Linked DNA regions of Homo sapiens: region 1 is linked to region 2. Evidence: promoter capture Hi-C in human tissues and cell types (Jung and others, 2019). All regions are on one chromosome and are shown on one strand. Each heading gives the region's core, a stretch centred on a gene start or on the middle of the fragment in contact. The rest is flanking DNA. Distances are from core to core; before and after follow the strand shown. Region 1 overlaps SYT10 (synaptotagmin 10). Region 2 holds the start of YARS2 (tyrosyl-tRNA synthetase 2).

Region 1 (3,965 bases), core at 1,394-3,893, 650 kb after region 2:
AAATAATGAAGTCATTATTCTTAAAGAGTGAAATAATTTCTAAAATAATGAAAATAACAAAATTACCTTAAATAATGAAAGTCAATACTAACTGTGAGGAAACTTGGTGCTGCAGATAGGATATTTATATTACAGATGAATATTTTAAAGGAGAAATAGCCTACCAGTTCTGCTAATTTATAAGAGCTACGTTTTTTTATTCACACAATCACTAGGGTTACTAGTATATTCAGCATTAGGTGCCTGAATTATTATTAGTAGAAATGAAATTCTACCTTTGCAGGATCTTAGACATAAATTCCATAACTCTGCAAGGCTTATTCCGATAATTTGGGTAATAATTAGTCACATAGCATTGTAAGTCAAATAAAAAACAATATATTGGTGGAATTACTACTTACTGTGGTAGCACAGTGAATATCTTTCCATACTGTGGCTTCCCTGGAGAGATCAGAGACTTCAAACAAATTATCAAGAATCACTTCCCCAATCATGTCATGTCTAGAAAATCTGTCAAAATCATACACACTGAAATGTAGTTTTCGGTTGCTTAGTTGATCATATGCTACAGGAAATTGAAAAGTTTCATCAAATAGAGGATTTAAAGTCTTTCTGTGCACGCGGGTCTGAAATTTCTTTTTCCTATCTGGAAGAAGATACATCTTCACATAAGGGTCAGAAGTTCCTGTGAAGTCTTTAGCAGGGAGATCTAAAGCTTTGATAATTTTAACAACTAGAAGTTCATTTTCATAATCATACTGGAGGGTAAAGTTAAGTTTCCCACAGATTTTGACATCTTCGTTTTGGTTGCCCTCAGAGTCAACTGATTTCTGTTTGTAGAGTTCTGGCTTTATCCTCCCAATGCTGGTTGTTGTTTCTCCTCGTTGTAAAACAGGTTCTGTGCCCATGCTAAAATCAACACTGGAAACCTGCATTTGCCTCGGCAGGTGTCTTCGGAAGGAACTGTGGCTGAACACACACACATATACACAAAATCATTGAGGGAGATCATTTTGATGAGAATGTTATACAGTGACATATAAACTCTTCCCCACCCCCAGAATAGTGAAAAGATATCTATATCTACATAGATAGACACATACATATAATCAAAGAGGTACTTTTGAAAAAATAAAGAAGTACAATATTCAAAGAGAAGTCTCCTAAAATTCCAGAACATCTGAAACACTTAAATGTTCTTTTTGTTTGTTTGTTTTGTTTTGTTTTTTGTTTTTTGAGACAGGATCTTGTTCTGTCACCCTAGCTGGAGTACGGTAGTGCTATTATAGCTCACTGTAGCTTAAAACTCCTGAGCTCAAGCCATCCTCTGGCCTCCGCCTCCTGAGTAGCTGGGACTACAGGCATGTGCCACCACACCTGCCCAGTTAATTTTTAAATTTTTTGTAGAGACAGAGTCTTGCTATGTTGCCCAGGCTGGTCTTGAACTTCTGGGCTCACGCAATCCTCTCACCTCAGTCTCCCAAAGTGCCGAGATAACACAAGTGAGCCACAACACGTGGCTGGCCAATGTTAATTTTCATATGCTTTTGAAATTTTGTACTCTCAATCATAAGCACATAATTAAAAACAATTCTAAAGAAACATGATTAGCAAAAAAATTCAATATTCCACAGAAAATTGTGAATGTTATCAGTCATCTGGGTCTATCTAGATGTAAGTATTATACAGACAAAATCATTCAGATGGCTGGTTTCTTTTCACCTGGATATTTGAGTCTCATGAATTTCACATTTTAGTGACTATAGTATTAAAATTAAAAACATGTTATAGGTCCACATTTTCTTATAATGAGTTGTTTCTAATTCTTAATCTAACTAAATACATATTTACTTTTAAAAAGAATATATAGTTGTGGCAGCCAAAAATGAGTACATTTTCTTTTTTTCAACATGCTGTGGTCTTCAGAAACTCTAAGGATAAAAACAAACGTAGAATTTTAGAATTTGAGCCCAACAAAACAAGTTTTTAAAAATTCAGACTGAATTTCCTATAGTCACTATTACTACTCATCTAGTCAACATTTCCAGAATATTAAATATATAAGCTTACTAATGTCTTCTACATGTGACTTGCATTAAAGATCTGCTGCTTTTATACTTACTCCATGCTTTCTGGCACGAACTGTGCCAAACTACCCATCTCCTCAAAGCTTAGTCCCACGTCTTTTGTTATATTTCTTGTCAGTCTGTTCATCAGACTAATCATCAGTTCTTGGACTATAATTATTGTCTTGAATCTGATGGTTTCTCAGATAAATCCCAGCTACATAAACTTCTAGTCCCGTATCTCTAAATTTCTAAGGAAGATTTCTAAACAGATGTCTTCATTTCTCCCCAAATGCAACCAAACTCATCATTTTCTCCCTTTTGCTTGCAAATCGGTTCTTTATCCCACAATCTCTGACAATAGCACTAATATTTTTTATCAGTCACTCATGCTTCCAAGAATGAAGTATGCTTTGAATCATTCTCCCTTTACCCATAGGATTTACTCAGTTTTCTAAATCCTGTTGCTTTTCCTTTGAAACATCTCATATAGTTGTTCATTCCACTCCTTTTCCATTGCTGTGGAGTCCAGATCCTTATCTCCATATATTTTGCTTTCTCTAGTCACCTTCAGCTGGCTTTTTTTTTTCCTTCCAGCTCTGTCTTATACTTAATACCCAGTCAGTGCACCCTCAGAACACTCATTTCAAAATACTTTATTCACTTCTGTTGTCTATTGCAGCAGGTCTACACCTGTTACAGCACTAAGTAATATAGATGACATTGCATGATTAATATTTGATTCACTGATGCACACATGAAGCTCGATTTCTTTTTTTTCGAAATGGGTTCTCACTCTGTCACCCAGGCTGGAGTGCAGTGACACAATCTTGGCTTACTGCAACCTCAACCTCCCAGGTTGAGGCGATTCTCCTGCCTCAGGCTCCCAAGTAGCTGAGATTAGAGGCTCCCACCACCGCACCTGGCTAATTTTTGTATTTTTGGTAGAGATGGGGTTTCACCATGTTGGCCAGGCTGGTCTCAAACTCCTGACCTTAAGTGATTTGCCCACCTCCACCTCCCAAAGTGCTGGGATTACAGGCGTGAGAACATTGATTTCTTTTCTTTTTTTTTTTTTGAGACGGAGTCTCACTCTGCCGCCCAGGCTGGAGTGCAGTGGCGTGATCTCGGCTCACTGCGAGCTCCGCCTCCCAGGTTCATGCCATTCTCCTCCCTCAGTCTTCCGAGTAGCTGGGACTACAGGCGCCCCCTACCACGCCCGGCTAATTTTTTGGTATTTTTAGTAGAGACTGGGGTTTCACCATGTTAGCCAGGATGGTCTCGATCTCCTGATCTCAAAGAAGAGTTTACAAATTAGTGACCATCCATAAGTGAGATGCCTGGCCACAATACCATTTGAGAAGTAGTGACAGGAGCTGAGGATGTTGAACCTAGAAAGGAGAAGTTGAAGAATAGGGTAAAGATGGATTAAGGCTAGCTGTCTTCTAATGCCCGAAGGACTGTCATGACAGCATTTAGGAATTTATGGAAGGTGCAGGAAGATAAACTTTAGCTTAATATAAAGGAACGTTTAAAATAATCTAGAGCTATCCAACACAGTGAAGTAGTGAACTTCCTCAAGCTGGAAATGTAGAACAAAGGTTAGATGCTGAAGAAAAATATTTCTGCCTCACATAAGATTTTGGCAAGTCTAGCATCTCACTTGAGGCAGGAAACATTAAGTGTTCTCTAACCTTAAGTTTATTCTGTGATTCTCTTTCATTCTATAGTCCTTCAGTAATTTTACGGGCCTAAATGTTTACAACGCAGTATCAATATTATGTGCATTAATAGAATGGAATTTGTTAAAATCAGAATTATAATCTAAGGTGTTGCCAAGTTCATTCTCTTACGTTTAATTTGCTTATTTACTTTAACTGGACTGAACTGTTGAGCAGT
Region 2 (4,143 bases), core at 1,557-4,056:
ATCGCTTGAGTCCAGGAGTCTGAGACCAGCCTGGGGAACAAGGTGAAACTCCACCATTACTAAAAAAAAAATACAAAATTAGCTGGGCATGGTGGTGTGCACCTGAGCCTGGGAATTTCAGGCTACAGTGAGCCAAGACTGCGTCACTACACTCTAGCCTGGGCAATGGGAGTGAGATTCTGTTTCAAAAAATACAAAAAAGAACTGATATTATTTTTGTACTATGAATATGGTCTAACTCTCCATTTATGTAGGTCTTTATTTTGCTCAATAGCATCTTTTAATATTTTGCAGGAAAGTCATATACCTTTTAAGTCTTAAAGAATTATTCCTAGATTACTTTGATGTTACAGAGCATCAAAATATTTTTTTCACTTTTTGTTGCAGGTATATTTGTTTCTCATTAATTCATATTCTTCCAAGAGTTTAAGGCAATTTGATTTAAGGAGAAATCATTTCTTAAGAGGATCTTTAAAGTCATATTTGTGAGAGAAGAGAGACAAAGGAAAAATAAGGGTAGTCAAGGTTAAGTTGAAAGGAGTGAAAAAACTAGAATATGCAGGTGATAAAATCCTAAGAACTTGCTAGATACAGATCAAAAAGTTGGCTCTACATTTTCTAGCCACCCACTGTTTTTCTGCTTTAACCAACAAAGTGTTTAACTTTAGAACACAGTAAAAATTAGTCTTCTATGATGTAATGGTTTATGTACAGACAGAAACTACGTTAAAAACAAAAAAACTATAAAATGTACATAGATTCAATGGCTAAAATTACATCATGAGTTTATGGTGTCAGTTTTTCTCAGCCCATTATTCAGAACTCACCTTTCCACTGAATCGTCCGGTTGCCTGACAAAGAATTGATACAATTCAAATGGAGATGTCTTATCTCTGTTTAGCCAAACAGCGTTGCCAGCAGACTTTCCCAGCTTTGCTCCAGTTGTACTTGTAATTAGAGGAACGGTGATTCCAAATACATCTTCTCCAGTCAACCTACGCATAAAGAACAATTTCATTATGTGCCTCAAGCACAAGTGGTGGTAGGTTCTACTGTTCACCTTCCAGATTTCTTTCTGGTTACTTGCTCCAGGAAAACTTCCTTGACCTCCTAAATCTGAATTCTTGTTCCTCTTATGTATTGTTACAGTACTTACTCTATTCATTCTGAACCTCATGAGTGGTTCCAGGCAGGTTCTAGGCAGGCCAAGGGGAAGTGCTACATAACAATGGACTAGAGATTTTGAAAGGCTGAGTGGGAAGGAGAAAACTGGGTGAAGGGGTGTCAGGAAGAGACACTAAAGGAAATCTTCTAAACGCCTTTTAAACATGTGCTTTGCTCTGTTGCACATGAGCTAGCCCTATCCTTCACCTCTCTCAAGAAAATGCTATTAGACCCGCATTACTTGTCAATTATTTGGAGTTGAAAAAACTTTTTGAGATACCAACCAAGGACTAACACTAGTTTCATGGAGGGTGCAGAGCTAAAGCAGAGGCTAGCTACTCAAGGAGGCCCAGTCACGTTCTGGTATAAACACACAAAAGCAGTTTCTCTAATTAGAGAGGACGACTTAGGCGAAGCAAAACAGACCGACCAAATCTTCACTAGTGGTCTGTTTCCCTTTTTTTTTTTTTTTTTTTTGAGACGGAGTCTCCCTCTGTTGCCCCAGGCTGGAGTGCAGTGGCGCGATCTCGGCTCACTGAAACCTTCGCCTCCCGGGTTCAAGAGATTCTCCTGCCTCAGCCTCCCGAATAGCTGGGATTACAGGCGTGCATCACCACGCCCAGCTAATTTTTAGAATACACCGTTTACTCTTAATACCCTTAATTCAGCCCTTTAATTCTTATTAGCCAGTGTTATTAACGCCATTATAGAGCCTTAATGGGGATAAAACCAACAAGAGCTGGAACGAAGGGCAGCAACTACAATCCTAAGAGTGAATCACAGGCTACTAGTGTGTAAATTATTTGGTCCCAGGATTTCCCCAAGGTTTAAAGGCACTTACTTGTTGATGAACTCATATCCGGACATGATGTTGCCTAGTTGATCAGATCCGCCCAGCTGGACCCTGCATCCATAACGCTGGAAGAGGTAATAGAAGTCATAGGCCTGGAGCACCTGGTAAAAGAACTCGGCCAAGCTCATGCCCTCGGGGCTCTTGAGCCGCAGCTGCACGCTCTGCCGGCTCAGCAGCGTCCCCATGCGGAAGTGACCCCCCACTGCCGCCAGGAAGTCCACCAGGTGCTGCTTCTGGTACCAGGCCGAGTTGTCCAGCACAGTGAAGCTGCCCCAGGAGCGCCCATCAGTGAAAAGCTGCTGGTGATTAGCCGCCAGGGCCTCAAGCCCTAGGCGCAGAGCTCGCGCGTTGGCTCGCACGCGCTCTGTCTCCAGCGCCTCGCGTTCCTTGGTACGGCCGCTCGGGTCTCCCAGGCGCGCCGTGGCGCCTCCCACCAGCGCGATCACGTTGTGGCCCGCTCGCTGCAAATGAAACAGGCCCAGCAGCGCAAGTAGATGACCCACATGAAGCGAGTCTGCCGTGGGGTCGAAGCCACAGTAAATGGTTTGGGGAAAACTCGCCGTGCCACGGTCGAAGAGCTCTGGGAGCTCTATTTTCGTCCCCGTCTCCGGGAAGAAGTCCTTGAACAGACCTCGAGCCTTCTGCGCTGCCAGTAACCCCTGAGCGCCCGAGTGGGCCTTACGCAGCCCCAAGGGCAACAATACTGAGAGATTTAGGGTACCAGACCACCGGCCCCAGGAAAAGGACCGCAAGATGGGCGCCGCCATCTTGGTAGCGGCACGAAGGGAATGCTGGGATTGCAGAGGCTCCCACCACACCCACCTACTTACAGCTCCTAGGGAAGGTGCTTCAGTGTTTTTCTGCGCATGCCCGAGACGGTTACGTAGTTACGGAGCTTGCGCTCTCAGCAGTTGAGTCCCGACTCCAAGTGGCGATTCCGCCTCAGAGCCGTCGCCTTACGTTCCCTTAAACTTAATTTTTCCATCAGCAGTGTGGATCTGCTTATGATAGTTCCTACCTCATAAGGCTGTTGTGAGCCTTAAAAATTAAAGCATTTGGCACATAACGCTTCACAAATGCTAACTTGTATTTACATTTTCACGTAAAAAGATTGTGATGCGCAAGTTCTTTGAAGTCTTGGTTCCATGCAAAAAGCTGTTCACAGAGGTTGAGAAAGGTTAGGAATTGGTTTAAGTTCGCGGAGAGATAGGGAGTTGCTGCTGAGACGCAAGCAATTTCATAGTACCGATTCCCTAATTGCACCTCGTCCCCAGTATTCATCGGCTCTTCCAGGAGGTGGCAGTCTTGTCCAAGGTATAGCAAGAAAAACTCAGTGCAATAAAGTACATGCATCAAGTCCTGTGGTTTATTTATTTTAAATACAGTTAACTAGGTTGGGACACAGCTTAGCATGAGTGGATTCAAGTTAGTAATCACATCGTGCAGCGTGACAGGTGCTCTGAATACTGACCAGGGATGAGGTTCTTATTGGCAGCTGGCTGGCAGGTGATCTAGCTTCAAAATCCCATGTTAGAGCCTGATTTCTAGGACCGCTTTCAAAATCGTCTTAGGTAGAATTCCCTGGACTCTGAGTTGGGGGGGAGACTGGTTTGCAGGAGGGTAATTGGAGTGTGCTCTTAAGAACAACACCTATAATGGAGTGAGGGAGGCCGGGTTGGGCGGAGGGAGAAAGAAGTTGAACTGTGAACAATTTGTAATAGAGGCCTCAGGCAATCCAGTAAGGGCTCTGGAGCCGGGATTTCCTTTCAGAGTCATCCTGAATTGAGGCCAGGGGGCAGACCTTTAGACCCTCTTACTGACTGCTCATTAAATGTGGGATGTTTCTGGGGAGGAAGCAAAACGCTGGGTTAAGGCTTTTGGAGAGTGAGATGTGCAGGAAGGGACTCAGCTGTGAGCAATAAGCAACCAACACTCCCAGCAGCTGGGGGATTGAGTGCCTTGGTCCTGTGACTGGGATCTGGGCCATGTTCCAAATCATTCCCTACAGGACTTTTCCATTTTTTAACGTTATAAAGTTATCTAACAAAATGAAAACTTATTTTAATAATTAGTTTCTTTGCATGTATAATTATCAGTGAATTAGTTTCTCATTGCCAAATAGTAAC

Evidence for each region. Contacts are between HindIII fragments. The study calls those that stand out against the background at their distance.
Region 1: a contact is called between a fragment that was not itself captured here and the fragment with the promoter of YARS2 in region 2, in 1 of the 25 tissues and cell types used here (H1 embryonic stem cells).

The regions. Positions count from the first base shown.
Region 1 is chr12:33,406,388-33,410,352 of GRCh38, forward strand. SYT10 (synaptotagmin 10) reads right to left here. Exons shown (of 7, transcript NM_198992.4): 3 at 402-969. Among named protein-coding and RNA genes, the nearest start is that of SYT10, 31 kb to the right of the region's middle. The HindIII fragment of the contact is 4,662 bases long and covers 313-3,965 here.
Region 2 is chr12:32,753,091-32,757,233 of GRCh38, forward strand. YARS2 (tyrosyl-tRNA synthetase 2) reads right to left here and starts at 2,807. Exons shown (of 5, transcript NM_001040436.3): 1 at 2,006-2,807; 2 at 828-995. The coding sequence starts at 2,784. RefSeq lists enhancers at 1,747-2,386, 1,943-2,102, 2,387-3,026, 2,473-2,572, 2,593-2,822 and 1 more. The HindIII fragment of the contact is 8,220 bases long and covers 1-4,143 here.